Regions from separate parts of the Homo sapiens genome. Here region 2 is linked to region 1. The links are contacts of gene promoters, found by promoter capture Hi-C in human tissues and cell types (Jung and others, 2019). All regions are on one chromosome and are shown on one strand. Each heading gives the region's core, a stretch centred on a gene start or on the middle of the fragment in contact. The rest is flanking DNA. Distances are from core to core; before and after follow the strand shown.

Region 1 (5,569 bases), core at 1,753-4,252:
TAGCAAATTGGCTCTTAGCAATTTACTTTTCAGAGAATTGACTCAGTCTTTGAAAGATGCGAATCTGAAATTTCTCCAAAAGCCCCTTGCTTGCTTAACGAAACTCTGCTTGTGGAAAGGTCCACCACCTCCAAGTAATCTGGGTACTGCTCTTGGTCACTTAAAGCAGTTCCTGGCACACTGTAATACTCTAAAGCTGCTCAGGGCTGTTAGAGCTCTTTTCCGTCTCTTGGCATGAGACCTCATAAAAAGAAATGGACTGTATCAGAGAGGTCTGAGCTATGAGCGCCTTGCTATTGTTCATATTATGAAATATTTTTTCACATTATGAAATATAATGAACTCCTCACCATATTCCACTTTGGGCTCCAAGTGAGAGTTCAACACTTAACCCTGGGGCTTCTGAAACCCAAGTACCCCAGGAATAACTGAGATCAGAGGCAGGGGGTTGGAATAATTGACTCTTCCATAAATTCCCTCAATACCTTAGGGATTTCTGCTCATCAGAAACTTCCCCTTCAGTCTTGATAGCCAAGGAACATGAAAGGATAATAAGAATCACCACCGACCTGGGAGATAACTTTTATTGGGTGCTCCTTTTGTGGCAGGCACTGTGATAAATGATTCACGTAATTTGTTCTCATTTGATTTTTTTTTTTTTTTTTTTTGAGACAGAGGCTTGCTTTGTCTCCCAGGCTGGAGTGCAGTGGCGTGATCTCAGCTCACGGCAACCTGCACCTCCCGGGTTCAAGCAATTCTCTTGCCTCAGCCTCCTGAGTAGCCAGGACTACAGGCGCATGCCACCACGCCTGGCTAATTTTTTGTATTTTTTTTTTTTAAGCAGAGACGGGGTTTCACTGTGTTAGCCAGGATGGTCTCGATCTCCTGACCTCGTGATCCGCCCACCTCGGCCTCCCAAAGTGCTGGGATTACAGGAGTGAGCCACCGCACCCATCCCTCACTTGATTCTTACAACAGTCCTCTAGAGTTGACACAGGAGGAAACTGAAACTTAGAGCAATAAAACAACTTGTCCAAAGGTTACGCAGCTGATAAGAGGCAGAGCCAGGCTTTGAAACCAGGTGCTTCCAGCCCTAAAGCCTGCATCCTTTCTTAACCAGTAAGCAAACTGCCCTCATTTACTTATTCATTTAAATGATAAACACATGAGAAGAGCTCGCTAAATTAAAAGCAGATTATTTTACAAGGGAAAAAATGGAAAAGGAAGACCATTTAGGAACGGTTTCCAGTGGAAATAAATCTCCACTTCTCCCACTCTCCTCCCACCATGCAGCTCTTCCGTGCATTTCTTAAATTAAGGTGTGTGGATGTGTACAAATCCCACAGTTTCGTTGTTGATTGGTTGATAACAATGGGGAATTGAGAAGGAGATGGAGTACAAACGGTCAAGGCCTCCTGGCTGGCCACCTGTCATCTACCTTATACTGACCTTGGAGCCCAGAATCCAGTTCATCTAACCACTTGTCCCCATCTGTGTCCAGAATGTCCATCAGGGTGAGGCCTGTTGTGTAGTGCCGGCATCCAAAGAAAGTTCTCTTCTCCCCCACCAGATGGAAGCAGCGGAATCTATCAGCATCAACAAGGCTTCTAACGGCAATCATATCCCCTCCAGCATCCATCTCCTTAACTACAATTCTTGTGATTTCCTCAAATACGCTGAACATTGCGCCTGGACCAACTCAGAAACAGAAGCCAATTTCAGTTTTTGGGAGGAGGGTATTGGTTCAAGTATTTAAATCTTCCACATTTGGCAGCCTGAGGTGTCAGGCCTCTGAACCCAAGCTAAGCCATCATATTCCCTGTGACCTGCATGTATACATCCAGATGGCCTGAAGCAACTGAAGATCCACAAAAGAAATGAAAATAGCCTTAACTGATGACATTCCACCATTGTGATTTGTTCCTGCCCCACCCTGATACAATATAGTCTCCCCGCCGCCGCCCTTAAGAAGGTACTTTGTAATATTCTCCCCTGCCCTTAAGAAGGTACTTTGTAATATTTCTCCACCCTTGAGAATGTACTTTGTAAGCCTATCCCAAACATATAAGAACTAATGATAATGCCACCACCCTTTGCTGACCCCTTTTTTGGACTCAGCTTGCCTGCACCCAGCCTTGTTGCTCATATAAAGCCCGTTTCGTGGACTCTCTTCACATGGACGCACGTGACATGAGGTCAAGGAAGAGCCAAAGGTTCCAGGACAATCAGTACCTGGAATGATTTGCCTGCCTTACTTCTAGAACGTGAGGCAGCCATGACTCAGTAAAGAGGGCTAAACATCACAGATCCCAGATTCTCCTCTGCCCCTCATGGTACCCATCTGGAGGAAAAAAGTAGCAGCTATTGCCCCAAATAGAGAAAGTGAGACCCATTTTCTACATCTCCCACAGCAGAGTTGCCCCCTTGTTCCAAGGGGCCCAAGGGATGGAAAGGCAGGCCCACCATGCCCCAGCCAGACTAGCCCCAACGTTGATGAACAGAGGAACCAGGGAGGAATGACGGGCACGGTTGCCAGACTTCACATTACTAACCTCAACTGGTCGTTTCTTCCCTTGGCTCTGATTCTTGGGCTCCCTGCCTTGCTGTATTCTGCAAGGCAATTGGATGGGTGCCTCCCTACCAACAATTTCCCAATGAGGTGGTGGTAAATTGGCCTCAGAAGAAACAAAAGCTTCCTGGGATCCACTTCCCCATCCTACCTTTGGCCACCTTCCCCTATATCCCTTCTGCCCAGCACAGGCACTTATCCACTCACTGCTTCCTCCTCTGTCTCTGGCCCCATCATGGTGGTTGACTCTCAGTTCACTACCAACCTGGGAATTCTAGGTGTCTGGAAAGACAGTACCCGGGAACCACAGGCCCATCTCAAGTGGTACCCACCTCCTCTCTGACCTCAGCTGTTCACCAGAAATGGAAGTTGTGAGAATCCCCACAGATCTCTGCACAGTTCCTGGCCTCTGAATCTCAGGAAGCTAAAATAATGAAACTGAAAGTTGTCCAGGTGTGGAACTTCCTGGACGGGTGGGTAGGGCTGGGTGCCCCACCTCCCAAGCCTTTAGATAAGCCACCTTATAACTGAGCTGGAGGCAGATTAAGGCCAGAACCCCCCTTTTTTTTTTTTTTTTGAGACGGAGTCTTGCTCTATCGCCGAGGCTGGAGTGCAATGGCGCAATCTCGGCTCACTGCAAGCTCCGCCTCCCAAGTTCACGCCATTCTCCTGCCTCAGCCTCCCGAGTAGCTGGGACTACAGGTGCCTGCCACCACGCCCAGCTAATTTTTTTGTGTGTGTTTTTTAGTAGAGACGGGGTTTCACCGTGTTAGCCAGGATGGTCTCAATCTCCTGACCTTGTGACCCACCCACCTCGGCCTCTCAAAGTGCTGGGATTACAGGTGTGAGCCACCATGCCCGGCCAGAACCCCTTCTTCTTCTTGTACCTAAGGAGTGGGTAGGAGATCCTGGTATGTATTCTAGGTGAGTGTGGGCCAGACAATGGTGCACACCGTGGCGCCCTGGGCCATGCAATCCAGTGTGTTTGGAATAGAGAAATGGAATATGAGTAGGTATCAAGTGCCAGCAGGCAATGGCTGTGTCTGTGCCAGGGACATGAGGACCATAACCCAGCAGAACCAGCTGCCCAAATGCCATGCGACGGTCAACACTGAAGACCCAGGACAACAGCAGCTAACACCTGGAGGCAACAGGGTGGGCCTGTAAGGAGCACTCAGCCTCCCTCCCCATCTCGTGCTCCCGTGTACACTCTCAAGGAGATGCTGGTCTTCCTTATCTGGATGCCATCTGGCTTCTCCACCTACCTCCTTCTCCAGGGAGAGGCCTCTGACCTCACCCATGTCCTCTCTCAGAGATAACCACCCCGGTGAGCCCAGCCTGTCTTCCAGCCTCTGCATGCCTCAGTTCTGAAAGAACATTTGAAGGGATGACAGGCCAGGCGTGGTGGTTCATGCCTGTAATCCCAACACTTTCAGAGGCCGAAGCAGGCAGATCACTTGAGGCCAGGAGTTCAAGACCAGCCTGGCCAACATGGCGAAACCCCGTCTCTACCAAAAAAAAAAAAAAAAAAAAAATTAGCCAGATGTTTTGGCACACACCTGTAATCCCAGCTACTCAGGAGGCTGAGGCATGAGAATTGCTTGAACCTGGGAGGCGGAGGTTGCAGTGAGCCAAGATGGTGCCACTGCACTCCAGCCTGGGCAACAGAGCAAGACTCAGTCTCAAAAAAATAAATAAATAAATAAATAAATAGACGACAGTGGTGGTAGTAACAATTACAATTATAATAATATGGCTACCATATATTGAGTATTTACTATATGCCAGGCACTGTGCTAATGCTCACAACAGCCCTAAGAGGCATTATCTTTACACAACAGTGGAATAAACTGAAGCTCAGAGAAGTTGACACAGCAACATGGCTAATAAGTGGCAAAGCTGGGATTTGAACCCAGATCGTTGTTGATGTTCTCCAGCACCTCACCCTGACTATACTCTTGCAGGCTGGTGAAAGCAACCAGGGCACCCCTACTCCCAGGAGTGAAAGCAGTGGCTATATTTCTCTTTCCAATACTGTGTGGGCTCTACTCGGACAGGGGTGGTGGCTGGACTTGGGCAAATATCCCACACTCCCTGACACTCACTCCAAGGGTGCTGTGATGGTGGACCGGGGCTAGAGACCCCAGGCTGCTGGGGACAGCTCCTCCCTTCTACCTGGGACTTTGTGCCTCTCCTGGGAATAGCAGCTGATACTCCCCAGAACACGCTGGAAGGTCAGTGCCCTCGTGAGATAAGGATTCCTTGCTATAGGACTCCTCTCTCTCCTAGCCATGTTGGCCTCAGAAAGTCCCCAGAACCTCTTCCCCTGCCACTCAGGCTTATGGTGGGAGGAGGAAGTATGAAAAGTCCCCTCCACTGAAAGGCCAGAAGGAAACGCAGCGCTCCCAAGGGAGAGGTGACTGGGGAAAGGCCTTGGGGAGAGAAGTGAGAAACTGGAGAAGGGCTGGGGATTCACTGGGAAGGACTGAGCACCACTTGGGACCCTGGCTCCACGTGTAAACCATTGCTGGAGTGTCCCCCTCCTTGGCCATGGCACAGGTCACCCCAGCCTCTGGGGCCAAGGCGCAAGACCTGTCGGAGAACAGCCAGGCAAAAGCACAGAGAATTTTGCTCTCTGACTACCGCTGCCGCCGCCAGTTCCCTCACAGCCCCCTTGGGGGATTTCCCTGCTGAAGCCAGCAGAAAGCCCAGCAGTCCCAGCGCCCCTCCTGCCACCGTCAGAGCTGCACTGATGCCCCACCAGCACCTCAGCGGGAGCCGCTGCCCACACCCCTGCCCCCTCCCCTCAGCCTTCCAGGAAGCGAAGGCCAGACACAGGGAAACAGAAACATGTTGCCCTTTTATTTGCGTTTCTCAGAATACTGTACAAAGGGAGTAAAAATCCTATTCACACTTTGCTTAGAAAGATTTTAAGGTGAAAGTTCCCTATGATACACGGGGTGGGAGATGCAGGGTCAGGAGGGAGAAAACAGGCCCAGT
Region 2 (5,631 bases), core at 504-3,003, 250 kb after region 1:
TTTCTTCTCCTGGCTTGTGGGGTCCCAGGCCCCATCACAGGTATATGGAGGAGTGACCTACTATAACCCCGCCCAGCAGCAGGTGCAGCCAAAGCCCTCCCCACCCCGGAGGACTCCCCAGCCAGTCACCATCAAGCCCCCTCCACCTGAGGTATGAGAGTTCCTTCCTATACTTAATGCACATGCTCCGTCAGTGGGCTTTCCTTCTCCCCAGAGGATTTCCCTCATTTTCTGGGTGTGTTTCTCTGGAAAACAGTCTTTTTGTTATGACCTGATAACAAATTCCAACTTTGTTATTTCAGGTTGTAAGCAGGGGTTCCAGTTAATACAAGTTTCTGAATATTTTAAATCTTAACATCATATAAAAGTAAGTGCACAACTTACTGTGAATATTGTTAAAACTAATGCTCACACTTGCTTAATAAACAAAAATCACTTAATTAATGCTTTTTTTTTTTTTTTTTTTTTTTTTTTTTTTGAGACGGCGTCTCAGTCTGTTATCCAGGCTGGAGTGCAGTGGTGCAATCTCGGCTCACTGCAACCTCCATCTCCTGAGTTCAAGCGATTCTCTTGCCTCAGCCTCCTAAGTAGCTAGGATTACAGGCACGCACCACCACACCTGGCTAATTTTTGTATTTTTAGTGGGAATGGGGTTTCACCATATTGGCCAGGCTGGTCTTGAACTCCTGACCTCAGGTGATCCACCTGCCTTGGCCTCCCAAAGTGTTGGGATTACAGGTGTGAGCCACCCCACCCAGCCTCTGATTAATGCTTTAAGTTATAATAATCATGGGATATCTCAGGAGGCTTAAAGGAGTCCTGAAATTTGCCAGTTTGTTTGTTTGGCAAGTGTATTGGGCAGGGTTGAAGTAGAAACGATTGTTAACATGACAGTTTTCAATTGGGAAGCTACAAGGAAAAAATACAGGAAGGCAGTCAAGGAAAAGGGAAATCTAAATTTGAGATGTTATAGCAGAAAAAACCAGTTCTAAAGATCATAGAGGAGAAGGACTGGGGGTTTTGTTGCTTTTGTTTAAGGACATTACTTAAAACACATTATTTAGAAGTGTGGCTTTTTGAAAACAGCTTGTGAATGCCCAGAAGGCCCACTAACACTTTGGTGGTTCTTCCCTTTTTCCAACCCCTGTCAGAGCAGCAGAGGTGAGAACTCAGAAGAGAAATACAGCTGGCTATCTACTACCAGAAGGGCTTCAAAGATATAGGGTGTGGCTCCTACCAGCAAACAGCTGAAAGAGGAGGACCCCTGCCTTCCTCTGAGGACAGGCTCTAGAGAGAGGGAGAAACAAGTGGACCTCGTCCCATCTTCACTCTTCACTTGAGTTGGCTGTGTTCGGGGGAGCAGAGAGAGCCAGACAGCCCCAAGCTTCTGAGTCTAGATACAGAAGCCCATGTCTTCTGCTGTTCTTCACTTCTGGGAAATTGAAGTGTCTTCTGTTCCCAAGGAAGCTCCTTCCTGTTTGTTTTGTTTTCTAAGATGTTCATTTTTAAAGCCTGGCTTCTTATCCTTAATATTATTTTAATTTTTTCTCTTTGTTTCTGTTTCTTGCTCTCTCTCCCTGCCTTTAAATGAAACAAGTCTAGTCTTCTGGTTTTCTAGCCCCTCTGGATTCCCTTTTGACTCTTCCGTGCATCCCAGATAATGGAGAATGTATCAGCCAGCCTTCCCCACCAAGTCTAAAAAGACCTGGCCTTTCACTTTTAGTTGGCATTTGTTATCCTCTTGTATACTTGTATTCCCTTAACTCTAACCCTGTGGAAGCATGGCTGTCTGCACAGAGGGTCCCATTGTGCAGAAAAGCTCAGAGTAGGTGGGTAGGAGCCCTTCTCTTTGACTTAGGTTTTTAGGAGTCTGAGCATCCATCAATACCTGTACTATGATGGGCTTCTGTTCTCTGCTGAGGGCCAATACCCTACTGTGGGGAGAGATGGCACACCAGATGCTTTTGTGAGAAAGGGATGGTGGAGTGAGAGCCTTTGCCTTTAGGGGTGTGTATTCACATAGTCCTCAGGGCTCAGTCTTTTGAGGTAAGTGGAATTAGAGGGCCTTGCTTCTCTTCTTTCCATTCTTCTTGCTACACCCCTTTTCCAGTTGCTGTGGACCAATGCATCTCTTTAAAGGCAAATATTATCCAGCAAGCAGTCTACCCTGTCCTTTGCAATTGCTCTTCTCCACGTCTTTCCTGCTACAAGTGTTTTAGATGTTACTACCTTATTTTCCCCGAATTCTATTTTTGTCCTTGCAGACAGAATATAAAAACTCCTGGGCTTAAGGCCTAAGGAAGCCAGTCACCTTCTGGGCAAGGGCTCCTATCTTTCCTCCCTATCCATGGCACTAAACCACTTCTCTGCTGCCTCTGTGGAAGAGATTCCTATTACTGCAGTACATACGTCTGCCAGGGGTAACCTGGCCACTGTCCCTGTCCTTCTACAGAACCTGAGGGCAAAGATGGTGGCTGTGTCTCTCCCCGGTAATGTCACTGTTTTTATTCCTTCCATCTAGCAGCTGGCCTAATCACTCTGAGTCACAGGTGTGGGATGGAGAGTGGGGAGAGGCACTTAATCTGTAACCCCCAAGGAGGAAATAACTAAGAGATTCTTCTAGGGGTAGCTGGTGGTTGTGCCTTTTGTAGGCTGTTCCCTTTGCCTTAAACCTGAAGATGTCTCCTCAAGCCTGTGGGCAGCATGCCCAGATTCCCAGACCTTAAGACACTGTGAGAGTTGTCTCTGTTGGTCCACTGTGTTTAGTTGCAAGGATTTTTCCATGTGTGGTGGTGTTTTTTGTTACTGTTTTAAAGGGTGCCCATTTGTGATCAGCATTGTGACTTGGAGATAATAAAATTTAGACTATAAACTTGGCTCCCTTGCCAGTGTTTTGCATGAGTCTTGATTTGGGAGGGAGGGAAGAGGACTCCCTAATTCCCCCACAGGGTCACGGTCACAACTCAGGTCAGCCCAAGTTGTGAAACAGAAGCCCAGAGAGATGAGGAGCCCCTATGAGGCCATAAATGTGTCTGCACTCCCCATCAGTTATCTTTTTTAACCACATAGATCACCAGGATGTCATGCCATCCCTTAGATTGGAAGTGTCAGGGACAGAAAAGTAGTGAGATGCTGGTTATTCACATGAGCATCTAGTATCCTTTATGGCTTCCTTTGTGTTTGGCAAGTAAGTTTCCCAAGGTAATATGCCATCAGATGTCAATATAACTATACCAAGTCCTGGGTTGGGGGGAAGTACAGGTAGCTAGCTTTCTTGAAAAGTGAAGATGCTGCTGGCCACCGTGGCTCACGCCTGTAATCCCAGCACTTAGGGAGGCCGAGGTGGGCAGATCTCGATCAGGGAGATCGAGACCATCCTGGCTAAACAGGGTGAAACACTGCCTCTACTAAAAATACAAAAATAGCTGGGAGTGGTGGCGGGTGCCTGTAGTCCCAGCTACTTGGGAGGCTGAGGCAGGAGAATGATGGGAACCCGGGAGGTGGAGCTTGCAGTGAGCCGAGATTGCGCCACTGCATTCCAGCCTGGGCGACAGAGTGAGACTCCGTCTCAAAAAAAAAAAAAAAAAAAAGGAAAAGTAAAGATGCTGACACTAAAGTATTCAGGACCACACAGTCTTAGAGAGACTATCAGCTCAGGTAAGGGGAAGGGAATTTGTGTGTGTGTGTGTGTGTGTGTGTGTGTGTATTTTTAGTAGAAATTTTTGTATTTTTTGTACAACAAATTTTGTATTTTTAGTAGCAATGGGGTTTCACCATGTTGGCCAGGCTGGTCTTGAACTCCTGACCTTAGGTGACCCACCTGCCTTGGCCTCCCAAGGCCAAGTCTGAGTCTGTGTTCTTAATGTCCTTGCCAGTGGCTCTCCACCCTACCAGATCCAAAGTCACTTTTTTTTTTTTTTCTGAGACGGTCTTGCCCGTCACCCAGGCTGGAATGCAGTAGCACAATCATAGGTTGCTGTAACTTGGAACTCCAAGGTTCAAGCAATCTTGCCACAGCTTCCCAAATAGCTGTGACTACAGGCCCACACCACCATGCCCAGCTAATTTTTGTGGTTTGTTTTTAGTAGAGACGAGGTCTCAGTGTGTTACCCAGGCTAGTCTGGAACGCCTTGGTTCAAATGATCCTCCTGTCTTAGCCTCCTAGAGTGCTGGGATTACATGTGCAAGCCACTACACCCAGCCCCAATGTTCCTTTCTTATAACAAATATTTTGCAACACTAATATCCCAAAGTGAAATGGACAGATAACATAACCTGCCTGGACACATGATTTCAAAAAACAAATCAACTGTGGGTCATAATTCAGTTTACCTAGTCCACTTGGCCTTTGATGCTTAGAGGGCAGTTCCTACCTTTGAAGTGACTTTTTCCTCTAGGTCCTGGGTGGGATGGAAGTTTACTACAGAAGCTATCTCTGGTATGGGAGAGCAACTTTCATATGGAGCTGGCAGCATTTGTTGGGTTTCACAAATCCATACACGGGAGGCATAGATATCATAGTACATCTTTTTTTTTTTTTTTTTTTTTTTTTTGGTCTTGCTCTATTGCCCAGGCTGGAGTGCAATGGCACAATCGTGGCTCACTGCAGCTTTGACCACCTGGGCTCAATCAATCCACCCACCTCAGCCTCTCAAGTAGCTGAAACCACAAGCATGCACCACCACACCTAGCTAATTTATTTTTGTAGAGATAGGGTCATTGAATTCCTGGGCTCAAGTGATCCCGCTGTCTGGGCTTCCCAAAGTGCTGGGATTACAGGCTTGAGCTGCTGTGCCCAACTATTGTACATCTTATAAAGACAGATGGGACTTCCCCCATATCTTGGTGCTGGTGCCACAGCCAGAGGACTGTGACTTTTCTGAGCCCCGTCCCTAATTCCTTTTTTTTTTTTAGACTGAGTCTCACTCTGTCGCCCAGGCTGGAGTGCAGTGGCACGATCTCGGCTCACCACAACCTCCACCTCCCGGGTTTAAGCGATTCTCCTGCCTCAGCCTCCCAAGTAGCTGGGGTTTACAGGCGCCCGCCACCATGCCCCACTACTTTTTTTCTGTATTTTTAGTAGAGATGGGGTTTCACCATGTTGGCCAGGCTGGTCTCAAATTCCTGGCCTCAGGTGATTGGCTCAGCTTGGCCTCCCAAAGTTCTGGGATTACAGGCGTGAGCCACCACGCTGGGCCCCTAATTCCTCTTTAAATCATGTCAGTTTGCTTCTCTTCCCCACAATGTGATGGGTGACTGTAGGCCTGATCTCCTGGGGTTATGAAAAAATGCCATCCAGCCTTGGGGGTGGGTTACTGGCAGGAGGTTTGAGTGTTGGATGCTTCCCCTTTACCCTTGCCTCTTGCTTCCCTAGTCCTTCAGTTAGACCCTATTGCTCTCTCTGTTGCCCTGGTAACCAGCTCTGCAAGAAGAAACTCAAGCTCAGCAAAGCCCCCAGGTTCTCTCTATCCTCCCAGCCTGCCTCTGGGTGGGCAGAAAGAAGAGGGTGTGTAAGCAGCAGACAGATAGCCTGAGGTGGCCCTGCCCAGTCCCCTTGTAGAAGCCCATGGGCTCAAAAAAAGCTCAAAGCTTTTTCGCCCCCATCTCATAGTTGTTATTCATACCACCCTG

The links. The method cuts DNA at HindIII sites, captures the fragments that hold promoters and counts their contacts. A contact is called where the count stands out against the background at its distance.
Region 2: a fragment that was not itself captured here is called in contact with the fragment with the promoter of GSDMB in region 1 in 1 of the 25 tissues and cell types used here (bladder).

What each region holds. Positions count from the first base shown.
Region 1 is chr17:39,915,633-39,921,201 of GRCh38, forward strand. GSDMB (gasdermin B) reads right to left here and starts at 3,003. Exons shown (of 11, transcript NM_001165958.2): 1 at 2,902-3,003; 2 at 1,450-1,698. The coding sequence starts at 1,684. ORMDL3 (ORMDL sphingolipid biosynthesis regulator 3) reads right to left here. Exons shown (of 4, transcript NM_139280.4): 4 at 5,411-5,569. RefSeq lists an enhancer at 562-1,051, promoters at 1,603-2,232, 1,783-2,191, 2,915-3,277 and a cis regulatory region at 3,256-3,269. The HindIII fragment of the contact is 12,682 bases long and covers 1-5,569 here.
Region 2 is chr17:40,169,296-40,174,926 of GRCh38, forward strand. It overlaps CASC3 (CASC3 exon junction complex subunit), which reads left to right. Exons shown (of 14, transcript NM_007359.5): 12 at 29-151; 13 at 303-367; 14 at 1,152-2,876. The coding sequence ends at 326. Among named protein-coding and RNA genes, the nearest start is that of RAPGEFL1, 5.4 kb to the right of the region's middle. The HindIII fragment of the contact is 3,465 bases long and covers 22-3,486 here.